3 separate regions of the Homo sapiens genome follow, and all the other regions are linked to region 1. The links are contacts of gene promoters, found by promoter capture Hi-C in blood cells and fetal thymus (Javierre and others, 2016). All regions are on one chromosome and are shown on one strand. The core of a region is centred on a gene start or on the middle of the fragment in contact, and the rest is flanking DNA. Distances in the headings are between cores, read along the strand shown. Region 1 holds the start of DDX28 (DEAD-box helicase 28). Region 2 overlaps GFOD2 (Gfo/Idh/MocA-like oxidoreductase domain containing 2). Region 3 holds the start of GFOD2 (Gfo/Idh/MocA-like oxidoreductase domain containing 2).

Region 1 (4,842 bases), core at 951-3,450:
ACTTTTCTGCCAGTACCTTCCAGAGATTTCGCCAAGACGCCCGTTTGTCTTGGGCATTGTTAGAGAGTAACTCTGTCTACTGCTAGTCACATTTCCTTTCCTTTCCTTTCCCTGGGGGCTTAATGGATACCTTTTTGGGGGCAGGAAATACAAACTAAATGTTTATAAATGAAAACATCAACTGAAAGAGCCTTTGTCCTAGATGTGGAGGTTTGGTGTATGAATCCTCAGAAACTACTGAATTCCGCCCCGGTGCTAATTATTCTTAGGGGAGGCACATAAAAACATCATTTATTGTTAGAAATCATGACATGATACAAAGTCAAAATCCACTTGTGTCTTGCTAAAGACTACAGAAAGCCATGCTCAGCAGCTTCTTCTCCAATGCTGGCCAGCAGCGTACCTTTCCAAGTCACAAAGCAGTTCATCCCGCCCTCAAGGAGCCGACAGGGCAGCCCAGAGCCTCCCACTGACAAGTGTGGTCACCCACTCAAGATACTGGGAAAGATCCCTGTTCTAGCATCACATTTTAATCAGATTTGTCAAAATCAGGTTGCTTGGGGCAAAGGCTCTTTCACCGAGGATGCTAGTCCTGGAAGACTTCTCCTTCGGCGAGCCGCCAGCTCAATCTTCTGAACCAGGCTCACATCCCAGGGATGGGTCACAAAACTGATGACGGTGCCTGGCACCTCGCTCCCCACACGGCCCACTCTCCCTGCTCTGTGGATGTAATCTTGCAGCGTTGGGGGGAAATCATAATTGACAACCAGCTCCACACCAGTGCTGTCCAGGCCCCGAGAGGCTATGTCTGTGCAGAGAAGTATGTCTCGGGAGCTCTTCTGGAAGGACTGGAAGATTCCTACCCTCATCAAGGCTGGCATTTGCCCCTGCAACCTTAGGTGTTGGATTTTGTGGTCATCCAGAATATATCCCAGCCAGTTCACAGTGCTGGAGCTATTACAGAACACCAGAACAGTTCCTGAGGGACCAGTCCTTTCTGCTCTGTCACGATGCTTGAGGATGTGCACCAGCTCGGCCACCTTATCTGCTCCCTTCAGTCTCAGAAATGTCTGTTTCACATGAGGCATGATACAGTGGAGCTTGGAGCTGGTGATGGTGGTGACAGCATCTGGGCTGGCGACTTTATTCAGCAACTGGCCTACACCTTCGGGAAATGTGGCTCCTACCAGCACTAACTGAGCTTTGGGATTGAAGGGGTCTTCCAAGTCAGCTGGGCCTTCTGCTATGTGGCTCTTCTCTAAGATGTAGTCCACCAGTTCCAGGAAGCTTTCATCCAGCAGTGTGTCTGCCTCATCCAACACCAAGAAGGAGAGTTGCTCCAGACTGATCAGTCGACTTTTCAGGGCCTTCCACAGAGCCCCTGGAGTGGCCACAAGCACATCTGCTGAAGGCTGTCTGGACAGCTGCAGCCTGATCCTACGCATGCCGTGGCCTCCCTCCAGGTCCCGCACCAGCAGGCCCAAGGAGCGGCCCAAGGGTTGGGCCACAGCCCGCACCTGTTGGGCCAATTCTCGGGAAGGAACAAGGACCAGGCCTCGGGGCGCGGGGATAGGAAGGGAGTCCAGGCTTGGCTGGCCCAAGAGCCGTTGAAGCAGCGGCAGGAGGTAGCTGAGAGTCTTGCCACTGCCGGTTTCTGCGGCGCAAACGACATGGCGGCCGCGAAGTAGTGAGGGGATGGTGCTAGACTGCACGGTTGTGGGCTGAACGACTTCAGGCGCAGCCTCCTGTAGTGCGTGCAGCACACGGGGCTCCAGGCCCAGGTCAGCAAAGCTGCCCTTAGACGAGAGCTTTCGCACCGCTGGCGCCTCCTGTTGCGCGCGCTCGATGGAGAAGTGGTCCCGACGCGCGCGTCGACTCTTCCAGCCTTGAGAGGCTAGCGGCGCGCGCTCCCAACGGCCCAGTGTGAGGCGCGCCGGCTGGTTCAACTCCGGCCGCCGCGCCGAAACCAGCAGCGGTCCGGGTCGAACCAGCACCGGCCTCGGGAGGTTCCGCCGCCTGCTCTGCCGCTGTTCCAACTGCCGCTGTAGAGCCACTGGGATGCGCACCACCGGCAGGGGTTCGTCGGGACTGCGGACCGTGAGGCCCCGTCGCGGCGCCAGGAGCAACCGAGTCACGAGGGAAAAGAGCCGCACCGGCCGCGTTAGAGCCATGTTTCCCTTAGTGCGGGAGAAGCGCACATCAGTGACGTCACGGACGCGCCGCGACCTCGCGTACGGTGGCTGGCGAGGCTCAGTACGGTGTGTGGAGCTGGAGCACCGTGAGGAAGAAGCGAGGTTCTTTTTAAGAGTTCAGCTGCGAGGTCTGTAGCTCCGAATAGGGGATGGCGACATCCAGACCCGGCCAGCCTTGGGGAAGGGCGCGTCGTGGAGGCAGGACTGGAGGCTGGCGATACGAGGCGGCAGTGGGGCCTTGACCCAATGGACCATGAGGGCGGAGGGCTTCTGGCGATTGGTTACCTGGTTCCTGGGATTCTCTTTAGTTGTTCCTCATTGCCCTGAGATAGCTTGTCCCGTGCTGGTATCCGAGGTTGCAGCTGTTTTCCCAGATGTGTTCCCTGCGCAGGGTCTGGTAATCCGTGTTTATTGAGAGTTTGAATGAATGATCAGGCCTAGGGGCCGAGACAGGGGTCTGAAGTCATAGATCTGGGCTCAACCCCTCACCCTCTCTGTCTGTGAGCCCAGAGTGCAAGCTGATGGCTTTCAGCTTCTTCTCTCTCTCAAGTGGGAGATAAGGTCTTCAGGTTTTATTTCAAGTTGGGTCATCTTTTCTTCACAGTTATTTTCCTTCCTTTTAAGCCAAGGTTCACTCTCTACTCCCTCGTCACGCGTCCCAACTTCTCATCCAGAACCCACCCCTCTTGCAGCCCGCTCAGCTCCACTGGCTTCCCCGTCAGAAACCTGAATTACCTAAAATAGTAGTAAGAAGGGTGCTGCGACCCTACAAAGTGATCAAGTACGTGGCTTATCATGTAGCCCTGGTCAGGCAGAATATTTTACCTGAATTCAGATATTCGGGTTGTAAAAACAAGAACTATACGAGTCACTTTTTTTTTTTTTTTTTCTGAGACACAGTCTCGTTCTGTCACCCAGGCTGGAGTGCAGTGGCGCAATCTCGGCTCACTGCAACCTCCACCTCCTGGGTTCAGGTGATTCTCCTGCCTCTGCCTCCCAAGTAGCTGAGACTACAGCCGTACACCACCCACGCCCGGCTAATTTTTTCTGTTTTTAGTAGAGACAGGGTTTCACTATGTAGGCCTGGCTGGTCTCGAACTCCTGGCCTCAAGCGATCTTCCCACCTCGGCCTCCCAAAGTGATGGGATTATAAGCGTGAGCCACCATGCCCAACAGATACTTCTTGAACAGATCTGGAAAATGGGTGTCAGATCTTTTCTGTAATTTGCAGTGCCTGGGGTGGGAGATAAGGTAAATATTTATGGATTAACTCTCTGGGAGGTTCGTAACATCTGGAGAAAACGTTTTAGTTTCATCAAATACCAATGAAAAGATAAAAACTTTGCTTTTTTTGGAATAGTATGAGGAAAAACTTTCACAATTTTAAGTACACTCTACCCTTGTGCTACACAATTAGACTTTCTGGAGAGTTACCAGATAAATCAGAGGAAGAGAGGCTTTTTTTCTCCACAAGAAAATATCTGGAAGTAGGAAGAGAAAGTTTTGAGTAGTGATGGGTGAATGAACAGTCATTGGATAGGGTAGTGGTTCTAAAACAAGGGTGATTTTGCCCTTTCCCTCCCACCATATTTGACAATGGCTGGATACTTTTTTTTTTTTTTTTTTTATAGACAGTCTCACTGTGTTGCCCAGGCTGGAGTACAGTGGTGCGATGTCAGCTCACTGCAGTCTCTGCCTTCTGGGTTCAAGGGATTCTCCTGCATCAGCCATCTGAGTAGCTGGGATTAGAGGTGTGCGCTACCACTCCCAGCTAATTTTTGTATTTTTAATAGAGACAGGGTTTCACTACGTTGGGCAGGCTGGTCTCAAACTCCTGACCTCATGATTTGCCCACCTTGGTCTCCCAAAGTGCTGAGATTACAGGTGTGAGCCGCTGTGCCCGGCCCAATTCTATGCTACTTTTATGATTCTTTCCAAACTCAGGGCTTCTCCTTATCCAAATAGTTCCTTGGGGCCAGGCTCATGCCTGTAATCCCAGCTACTCGGGAGGCTGAGGCAGGATAATCGTTTGAACCCGGGAGGCGGAGGTTGTTGCAGTGAGCCGAGATCGCACCATTGCACTCCAGCCTGGGCGACAGGGCGAGACTCTGTCTCAAAAAAAAAAAAAAAAGGTCCCTTGGATGTTTGTCCCAACAGGTTTCATCCATTTCCATGTGCCACTGTTTTTCAGATATCAAACAAAGAATTACTCTGTACAAAGCCAGAACACATATATCAAAGTAATCCTGAAGTATCAGAACAAAATAATAGGTATGTATATGCATTTGGGTTTTTGGGTTTTGTTCAAATATCCAGGGTAGGGTAGCTGGTTAATATATAGTTGTTTTCTCATTATGCTTGAGTCCTTACAATATGATTACCTCAAAATTTCACAGGAGTTAGAGCTTGCCTAAGCCTGTCTGTGTCCGTGGCCACTAATTTCTTCTTGTCACATCACTAGACACTGCCTACCTTTTTTCCCCCTCACTCACAGAGGACATTGATTAACTTCTAAATGTTTTCTGAGATATTTTTATAAGTAGTGCTTTAGAAATAGGAAAGGTATCCTTATTGTGAAAAAAAATCTAAGCTCCTGAGATCAGGAGCTTGGTGTGTTCCTTGGATCTCAGTTAATAATGGTATATTCATT
Region 2 (4,842 bases), core at 817-3,316, 340 kb before region 1:
CGAGACTGAAAGCATTACACAGAGCCTACATGCAATGTGGAAAACTGGATACCAAGTCTTGGGCTGGACTAATTCATGTGCTTACCCTTCTAGTTGAAGCCCATCTGGGCAATGTGTGCACCTGGGCTTCTCCTCCACAGCCATCCAGGCTCCACTCTGGCACTCCACAGGTACTTCCTGGTTGGAGGGGCAGCCTTAGGCCTGGATGCCTGTGACCTGGGGCAACCGGTCACAAGAATGTGCCTTCTCCAGGTATGTGCATCTTCAGTAACCATGGTGCTCATCTTCCCTCAGGCCCCCAAACATTTTCTGAATGTTTTCAGATGAGGTAATGGTTAAGACACAGATTATTTCTGATGGCTCACTGCAGGGTGCAGCTTACCCTGATGGACCAAGATGGATTCTGTTCACACAGGCTCAGGAGGGGCCAGCTTACAGCAGAAACAATAGTAACTACAGACAATAAATCTTGCAACAAAAACTAAGAAAACTTCATAGAGATGGCCAATGTCTTGGCTGGGCATGGTGGCTCACGCCTATAATCCCAGCACTTTGGGAGGCCAAGGTGGGTGGATCACCTGAGGTTGGGAGTTTGAGACCAGCCTAACTAGCAGGAAGAAACCCCGTCTCTACTAAAAATACAAAATTCGCTGGGCGTGGTGGCACATGCCTGTAATCCCAGCTACTCGGGAGGCTGAGGCAGGAAAATCACTTGAACCCGGGAGGTGGAGGTTGCGGTGAGCCAAGATTGCGCCATTGCACGCCAGCTTTGGCGACGAGAGTGAAACTCTGTCTCAAAAAAAAAAAAAAAAAAGAAAAAGAAAAAGAAATGGCCGATGTCCCACATGATGGATGGGCCCCAGGACAACTGACTACCCAGGAAGAGTCAATTACTGGTGCTGGACTCAAGCTTTGGAGCCAGAAATTCCTGTGCTCAAATCTTGGCTCTCTCACTTCACTGCTAGATGATCTGGGAAGTTTCTAAACTTCCCTGGGTTTTTGTTTACTACTATAACTGTAAAGCAGGATTTTACAGTTACAGGGGAAGAAAGGAGGACTAAGGCAACCAAAGCAGTATATGTAAAGTACCTGGCTCAGTACAGCTCTGTCAACAGTACATTTTATTACCATCGCCAAGGGAGGGATTCAGCCAATGTCGTAAATACAGAGAAAAAAAGCCCATTGTGACTTGGATTTTAAGACTTGGCTGGGCGTGGTGGCTCACGCTTATAATCCCAGCACTTTGGGAGGCCAAGGTGGGAGGATCACTTGAGTTCAGGAGTTCAAAATCAGCCTGGGCAACATAGCAAGACCTAGTATTTATTAAAAATAAAAAATAAGCCAGGCGTGGTGGCGTGTACCTGTAGCCCCAGCTACTTGGGAGACTGAGGTAGGACGATCCCTTGAGTCCAGGAGATTGGGGCTGCAGTTTGCTGCGATCAAGCCACTGCGCTCCAGCATGGGTGACAGAATGAGACTTTGTCTCAAATAAATAAATAAATAAAAGACTCACATAGAAACTACATTTTCCAGGTAAATAATTTCTTTTTTTTTTCTTTTTTTTTTTTTGAGACAGAGTTTTGCTCTTGTCGCCCAGGCTGGAGTGCAATGGTACGATCTCAGCTCACTGCAACCTCTGCCTCCTGGGTTCAAGTGACTTTCCTGCCTCAGCCTCCTGAGCTAGCTGGGATTACAGGAGCCTGCCACCATGCCCAGCTAAGTTTTTTGTATTTTTAGTAGAGATGGGGTTTCACTATGTTGGCCAGGCTGGTCTTGAACTCCTGACCTCAGGTGGTCCACCCACTTTGGCCTCCCGAAGTGCTGGGGCGTGAGCCACCGCGTCGGCCCCAGGTAAATAATTTCTATGTTCTGTACTTTGAAAATCTGATTTAGTTTCTTCTTCCTTTTTTTAAGAGACGGGGTCTTGGCCGGGCGCAGTGGCTCAGGCCTGTAATCCCAGCACTTTGGGAGGCCGAGGCGGGTGGATCACGAGGTCAGGGGTTCGAGACCACCCTGACCAACATGATGAAACCCTATCTCTACTAAAAATACAAGAATTAGCTGGGCGGGGTGGCAGGCGCCTGTAATCCCAGCTACTCAGGAGGCTGAGGCAGGAGAATTGCTTGAACCCCGGAGGCGGAGGTTGCAGTGAGCTGAGATAGTGCCATTGCCCTCCAGCCTGGGCGACAGAGCGAGACTTCGTCTCAAAAAAAAAAAAACAACAACAACAACAAAAAAAAACAGGGTCTTGCTTTGTCACTTAGCTGGAGTGCAGTAGCGGGATTCTGGTTCACTGCAGTCTTGGTCTGAGCTCAAACAGAGCCTTCCTCCCAGCTTTCCAAGTAGCAAGGACCATAGATGAGTGACAGCACGCCCAGCTGATTTTTAAACTTTTTGTAAATACAGGGTCTTGCTACATTGCCCAGGCTGGTCTCAAACTCCTGGCCTCAGGTGATCCTCCTGCCTTGGCCTCCCAAAGTGCCAGGATAACAGTCATGAGCCACCATGCCCAACCCATGTTGATTTTATAATGTCTTTTTAGAAAATCTAATTTTCAGGCTGGGTGAGGTGGCTCACAGGTGTGGCAGTGCACAGCTGTAGTCCCAGATACACAAGAGGCTAGGGTGGAAGAATCACTTGAGTCCAGGAGTTAGAGGCTGCGGTGAGCTATGATCAAGCCACTGTACTCCAGCGTGGATGACACAGCAAGACTCTGTCTCAAAAAATAAATAAAATCAAAACGAATACAGAGGAGTTGTTTTATCATACGTACTGTTTATTAGGCCTCTCCGAGAGTCAGGCCCAGCCTGGCCCCCTGGTAGCTCACATACTGACCAAGCCCACAGGAGACAAATTGGTGCCTCTGGTCAACCCTTCCCCCTCCTCTCACTTCCTACCCCCACCTCTGCCACCTTGACCCTGAAGAACCCCACAGAGCATCTGTCATTTGTACTTATGGGCATCTTACGTAGGTCTAAACTCCCAGGATTACAAACCTCAGTGCTGCAGCAAGGAACAAGGCATGTGGATTGGTAGTCTATGACATCATTCAATCTCTTCAATTTATTTATTTATTTTTTTAATACATATTTTGTTATTATACTTTAAGTTCTAGGGTACATGTGCACAACGTGCAGGTTTGTTACATATGTATACATGTGCCGTGTTGGTGTGAATCTCTTCAATTTATGACACTTCAATCTCCTGCTCTTCTTTAATAAAAGAAGCTTTACAACAGGTACTAGCAGGACAATAAAGAACAGCCAGCCAAGTGTCACATACCTGGGATAGGGTGGCCAGGCCCTTGCACGGGGCCCGGCAGGGAGAGTAGCCCCTGACTGCTAGCACTACTGCTTCTGGAGGGTCTCCAGTGCTTCTCCACACTTGTGGGCCTTCCAGATTAGGGAAGACAATCACAGTTCTGGGGGTGAATTTTGCCATTTGGCTGCTGAACACATATGGCTGACCAGGGAGGGATGTAATGAGGAAATGAGGTTCTCAGACACCCCACCTGAGAGCTGCTGTTCTGGCCAATTCAGAAGCCTCCTGCTATAATGCCTCGCTGCTGGCGACAGAGTGGATACTGCAGTGTGAGGCAGAGAGGAGGTGGGTTTAGAGGAAAAAGGACTTTTATGACTGCTAGGAGTTTGGTGGTGATAAAACTAGGATAAGGAATTCCTGTTTCATGCCTCAAGAGGTGAGGAAAGAGGGAAAGACCTCTCTTCTTGAATCTGAAAAATAGTCTGTTTTTGTTTTTTTAGATGGGGACTCGCTTTGTTACCCAGTGGTATAATCTTGGCTCATTGCAACCTCCGCTTCCTGGGCTCAAGCTAACCTCCCACCTCAGCCTCCCAAGTAGCTGGGACCACAGGTGCACGCCACTGTGCCCAGCTAATTTTTTGTATTTTTGGTAGAGATGGGATTTCATCATGTTGCTCAGGCTGGTATTTAACTCCTGAGTTCAAGCGATCTGCCCACCTTGGCCTCCCAAAGTGCTGGATTAGAGGTGTGAGGCACTGAGCCCAACCCTGAATAACAGCACTCTTAAACTTAGGGCTCAGTAGTATCAGTGTGGGACTGCAAGGACATCTTGACTTAAACAGGCTCCTGAGGGCTAGCTGTACAGAGTCTTTGGGTAGCCATGAAAGACATGTCTACCTGAGTTTATCTAGCTCTCCTGCCAGGAAGTCAAGGGAGAGATTGGAGAAGCTGAAATCTGCTGGGCACAGTGGCTCCCACCTATAATTCCAGCACTTTGGGGGGCCAAAGTAGGATGATTGCCTGAGGTTAGGAGTTCGAAACCAGCTTGAACAACACAGCAAGATCCTGTCTCTACAAAAATGTTTTCTTTTTACTTTTCTTTTCTTTTTTTTTTGAGATGGAGTCTCGCTCTGTCACCCAGACTGGAGTGCAGTGGCGTGATCTCGGCTCACTGCAACCTCCATCTCCTGGGTTCAAGCAATTCTCCTGCCTCAGCCTCCTGAGTAGCTGGGACTATAGGCACGTGCCAACACGCCCAGCTAATTTTTGTGTTTTTAGTATAGACGAGGTTTCACCAGGTTGGTCAGGCTGGTCTCAAACTCCTGACCTTGTGATCCGCCCGCCTCGGCCTCCCAAAGTGCTGGGATTACATGCATGAGCCACCAAGCCTGGCCTGCAAACTTAGTGTTTTTCTAATGAACCACAGAAGTGCCAAGAATTGGGCACAGAAGCCCACCTTTTAGTGACAGACTTAAGAAAACATTCAACTGTGGCAAAGATGCTAGGGGCACCTTGCACTTAAAATATAATTTCCTGAACCACTTCTGAACTGAAGAATAAAATATATTAGGGCCCTTCCCC
Region 3 (4,842 bases), core at 625-3,124, 310 kb before region 1:
CTGAGGTGGGAGGATCACTTGAGCCCAGGAGTCAGAGGCTGCAGTGAGCTGTGATCACGCCACTGTACTCCAGGCTTGGTGACAGAGCAAGACCCTGTCTCAAAAATGAATAAACATTTAAAAATAAATATGCATGAGTGACTTTTCAGGCATCAGAAAGGCACTTTTCCTATTTCTAAGTTAGTGGTCTCTCTGATCCTGTGTTTTCTGAACACCGACCTCTGCATTTCAACTTCTAACATCAGATGACATTGCATCCCCATTCCATTTCTCCTCTTATGGGAAAACTAGAAAATCAGTTCAGTGAAAGTAGCTTCTATTAGCATTGCTGGTTTATCTGGTAGGGTTTCCTCATGGTTGGCCTGTCAAACACTGTTGATTACTTTATTACAGGCCAGATATGATAACTGCCCTCAGCTGCTCCAGAAAATGGCATAGAAGTTAAGTAATTATTTGTCAAAGGTTTCACTGTCATAGCAACCAGGACTTTTGAGAGTCCTCTGTAAGTCTACCTTTCTCTGAAAACAAGTGTTTTTCTGATTGGAGTTCAGAAAACTCACACAAATCCACAGGTCACACCACAGCCGTATTTAAGCAGTACCCTCTCCAAAAGCTCATTCAAAGTATTTGTGCCCACGTTCAAAACACCCTCCCACAGTCCATCCAGTTCCACAGGTGGCAACTGCTCCCTTCCATTTTACCTTGACTTGATTTTGGCCTACTTGTCTTACCTTCCTCTGGGTCAACGTGAAAGTAATGAAGGTTTCTGCACAGAACACAATGATTTTCATGAAGCCTTTCTGACAGAATTTGGTTAACAGTACTGATTTTCCCCAGAGGTTACATTTGCTTTTGATAATGCCCCATTATAACTCCTGAGGTATTTATACAAAATAACCCCACAGGTGCAAGAAAAGTTGGTAAAAAGCACAGTCACAATACCCATAGTTATGGTATGATGCTGAATTATGAAGCCAAGACAAAGTTTTCTTCTTCTTTTTTTGTTTTTTGAAACAGAGTTTAGCTCTTGTCCAGGCTGGAGTGCAATGGCGCGATCTCGACTCACTGCAAATTTTGCCTCCCAGGTTCAAGCGATTCTCCTGCCTCAGCCTCCCAAGTAGCTGGGATTACAGGCGTGCACCACCATGCCCCGATAATTTTGTATTTTTAGTAGAGACGGGGTTTCATTATGTTGGTGAGGCTGGTCTCAAACTCCTGACCTCAGGTGATCCACCCACCTTGGTCTCTCAAAGTGCTAGGATTACAGGCATGAGCTACTGCGCCCGGCCCAAAGCTTTCTTCTTTAAACTGATTTCACCTGTTAACATTATTATACTTCCAATGTATCTTCTTATAAGGGCAAGGGGAAAAACCTGCTGCAAAGTCAAATGTAAATAGAAAATTAGTTTTTATCAAGCTAGGGACAAACTGACTTTGATGATTAGAATCAGGGACCATCTTTTAAAAATCACATAGTTCTAATTTTTAAGTTTTGGGTCAGAGGAGGCTTTCTAAAAAATTGCTAGTTCTACTACCAATGTGTTCTAGTATTACTATAGAAATCAGATAGCAATTGCCCTAGCAAATAAAAATAATAATGAGGGCTGGGTGTGGTGGCTCACACCTGTTATCCCAGCACTTTGGGAGGCCAAGGCAGGCAGATCATCTGAGGTCAGGAGTTCAAGACCAGCCTGGCCAACATGGTGAAACCCCTTCTCTACTAAACATACAAAAATTAGCTGGGCGTGGTGGTACATGCCTGTAGTCCCAGCTACTCAGGAGGTTGAGGCCAGAGAATCGCTTGAACCTGGGAGGCGGAGATTGCAGTGAGCCGAGATCGCACCACTGCACTCCAGTCTGGGTGACAGAGTGAGACTCCGTCTCGATAGATAGATAGATAGATAGATAGAGAATTAGACCCAGACCAATGATTATTCCATGGCAAAGTGGGAAAACCAGGTGGTAAGAGATAACCTCTCACAACAGAATCTTTATCTGTGAAATAAGGATTCGACCAACAGAACCGTCTGTTGAAAATTTCCTCTCTTGGTCCAGGCAGGTTCTCTAAACTCCCAATCCCAAAGCAGTTAATTTTTTCACGTTTCCTGTAAAATGGATGGCCTTAAAACTCTTTTGTTCTCTAGTGTAGCTTTCCAGAAGGAAATAAGTTTCCTTATCAAGAATGAATCTAGCTTCCCCGACTCAAAAACAACCATCTTCTCTATATTGCTCCATATCACAATAAATTTAAGTGCCTTCCTTTTCTAAATTAAATGCTGTTCCCTTCAACTTAAGGGCCACACACTAAGGGCTATTCCTTTAGAGGCTTTTGGGCCCCACAGATCACAAAGGTGGTGCCCTGCCCTAGTTCTTTCTGGACATTTAAAAGGACATCCACTTTCTTGCCCTCAGGATAACATTATGGGAACAATGAACATAAATAAGACAGTTAAATAAGCTTCCCTGATGCCTATCCAATACAGCTTTCAACTCTTCTATCCTGCCTTGTTCTTTAGATCGTGCTGTAGTCTGGAGGGTAAACTCTTCACACAACCATTCCCAAGCCCTCATGTCCCTGTCCACTCTTCCTCCCTCACCTTTTAAGTGTGATAGGGCCTTGATGGGAAGACCTCACTTCACCTTTTGTCTCAAGTCCATCTGCTTCCTTCCAGAGCTACAAATACAAAGGTAGGCCAGGGCCATTGAGACGTGGCCATAGGGCACATGGGAGCTGGCAGAGCCACTCGCACCTTCTGGGGTGTCCCTTCTTCCACCTGTCAACTGAACACCCGTTTCTTAAAGATTTATCCCCAAAAGTCCCATCTCATTCTGAAAGGGGACGAACCAGCTACCCCACGAGCCCTTTGTCTGAGCTTCTACACCTCACACATCCTCATCCACAAAGCGTCCATCCTCACACAGTCAGGTGGTCCGCTCGGCACAGGGCGGGGGAGACTAGGTTTTTGCATCTGGTAAAAGGATGGGTTATGTCTCAGGTTCTTCCAGGATCCCAAATCCTATAATTCTACCACCAAGCCTGCGGGTCCTATTTCTGCGGTGGAAAGGGCGAATCCCAAGGCGACCCTCCACTCCACGCGCCTGCAGGCAGTTGGAACAAGCCCCCTCCAACCCCGGCTCTGCGGGTCCACGCCTCCAACCTCCGGCGCCGGGCCGCGGAGAAGGCCCTGTCGGCGCCCGCTCCCGGCCGCGCCATGCCCTCTTTCGCCCTCACCCGCCACCGGTGGCCGCCTCTCACCTGGCACGCTGGCATCGCCCACTCCGCGCTGCACTGGAAACCATGGGTCCGACGGGGTCTCGGGGGCCACCCATCCGCCTTAAGGAAGGCTGGCGGGGATGCGCGGGCCCGGGAGTCCAGGGCGCCGCCACCGGGAACGCGCCGCCTGGTTTCTAAGGAACTGGGGGCTCTGGAAAGGGAGGGGCGGGACGGCAGGAGGACTGCGCATGCTCCATAACGGGGATGGGCCTGCGCTGGGAGGGGCCGTAGCCGGGAGCTGCGCATGCTCGCTTTTTGGGGGCGGAGCTTAAGCAGCCTGGCTAGGAGGCTCAGGTTATTCATTTCCGGCGGCGGAGGCGGCAGTTTCCTAAGCTTGGCTTCTCTCCGGTCCGCTGACCGGCGTCAGGGACCAGGTTTTGGTAGCTGTGGGTAGCCTCAGTTGTCCTGGAATGAAAGACGGTTTCGTGTTGGACAAGGACATATCTGCAGAAGGCCAGTTCTCTCGAACTCGTCGGACTTCCTGGCTCCCTGACCCCCAGTGACTCGTTTTTCCGTTTTCTCAGGTGCCTGTCTGGGCTCCTCTTCCTCTGGATGTTTTTTGATTGTTCCTTAAATATCAGTGCTCTTCAAGACTGTAACCTCAGTCCCCTTGGCCTCTTTACTGAAGCCTATGCCCCACCAAATAGCAAACTATCCGCTAGAGTAAGGAAGCCGTTAGACCTTAGAATAAAACTGCCTGTGTAGGAAATGTGATTGGGGTTTGTATCTGCATGGGGAGCCCCCGTCCCTGCTTGTCTGACCCTCCTGCTGAGTATCAAGATCCCCACTCAGCTGGCATTAGGATGATCTCCCAGCCATCATTCCAGAGCAGCCTGTGGTGACAGAATATGTCAGCTGACCTAAGCGTGAGGCAGTTCCTACTGAGATATGCTAACTAGCAGCAGAGCTATCCCTGCTTTGAGCGGAGACAGGACTCCTACCACCTCTGTGAGGAGCATGGAAGGCTTCCAAAGTGATGAGAAGTTGTAACCCCTAAACCCCCCCTCTTCTGATGGGATTTTATCCTTTCTCTCCTGGATCCTCTAGAGCCAGGCAGAAGGAAGGCAGAGTCAAAATGTGCCTGTTTGATCTGTTTCTTAGTCATTGTTCGGAGTTCCACTCTTCTTGAGTAGGATTTCTCAACAGTGGCACTATTGACATTTTGGACCTGATAATTCTTTGTTGGGCAGGGGTGGGGGGAGCTGTCTGCATTGTAGGATGTTTGGCAGCATCCCTGGCTCTACCCAGTAGATGCCAGTAGCACCCCAAGCCCAGTTGTGACTACCAAAAATATCTCCAGACATTGCCAAGTGTCTCCCTGGGAGCAAAATCATTCCCAGTTGAGAACCACTAGTCTAGGGGGAAATGAGCCTACTCTGGCTTTACTTATATAGAACCAGGACTTTATGCTTAATCTAAAACCCATATTTTCCCCTTTATGCTACCTCTTCCCTAAGAGCATTCTATAGAGTAATAGTCCTGTAAGATTCTGCTGAGTGACACAGTCTGTAGTAACTTAAGTTTGGAAAGTGCAGGGTTAAGCAACACATTTTAACACAGGATTGAGC

The links. The method cuts DNA at HindIII sites, captures the fragments that hold promoters and counts their contacts. A CHiCAGO score of 5 or more calls a contact.
Region 2: a contact is called between a fragment that was not itself captured here and the fragment with the promoter of DDX28 in region 1, in 2 of 17 cell types (naive B cells and erythroblasts). The highest score is 6.2, in naive B cells.
Region 3: a fragment that was not itself captured here is called in contact with the fragment with the promoter of DDX28 in region 1 in 3 of 17 cell types (fetal thymus, naive CD4 T cells and non-activated CD4 T cells); the score reaches 6.2 in fetal thymus.

Annotation. Positions count from the first base shown.
Region 1 is chr16:68,021,032-68,025,873 of GRCh38, forward strand. DDX28 (DEAD-box helicase 28) reads right to left here and starts at 2,201. Exons shown (of 1, transcript NM_018380.4): 1 at 1-2,201. The coding sequence starts at 2,171. The coding sequence ends at 549. DUS2 (dihydrouridine synthase 2) reads left to right here and starts at 2,253. Exons shown (of 17, transcript NM_017803.5): 1 at 2,253-2,320; 2 at 4,384-4,463. RefSeq lists enhancers at 902-1,652, 1,653-2,403, 2,114-2,353. The HindIII fragment of the contact is 5,621 bases long and covers 1,286-4,842 here.
Region 2 is chr16:67,677,681-67,682,522 of GRCh38, forward strand. All of the region lies in intron 2 of GFOD2 (Gfo/Idh/MocA-like oxidoreductase domain containing 2), which reads right to left. Among named protein-coding and RNA genes, the nearest start is that of C16orf86, 13 kb to the left of the region's middle. RefSeq lists enhancers at 1-342, 343-1,298. The HindIII fragment of the contact is 2,317 bases long and covers 909-3,225 here.
Region 3 is chr16:67,715,907-67,720,748 of GRCh38, forward strand. GFOD2 (Gfo/Idh/MocA-like oxidoreductase domain containing 2) reads right to left here and starts at 3,410. Exons shown (of 3, transcript NM_030819.4): 1 at 3,257-3,410. RefSeq lists an enhancer at 2,728-2,807 and silencers at 3,168-3,217, 3,278-3,327. The HindIII fragment of the contact is 1,164 bases long and covers 1,293-2,456 here.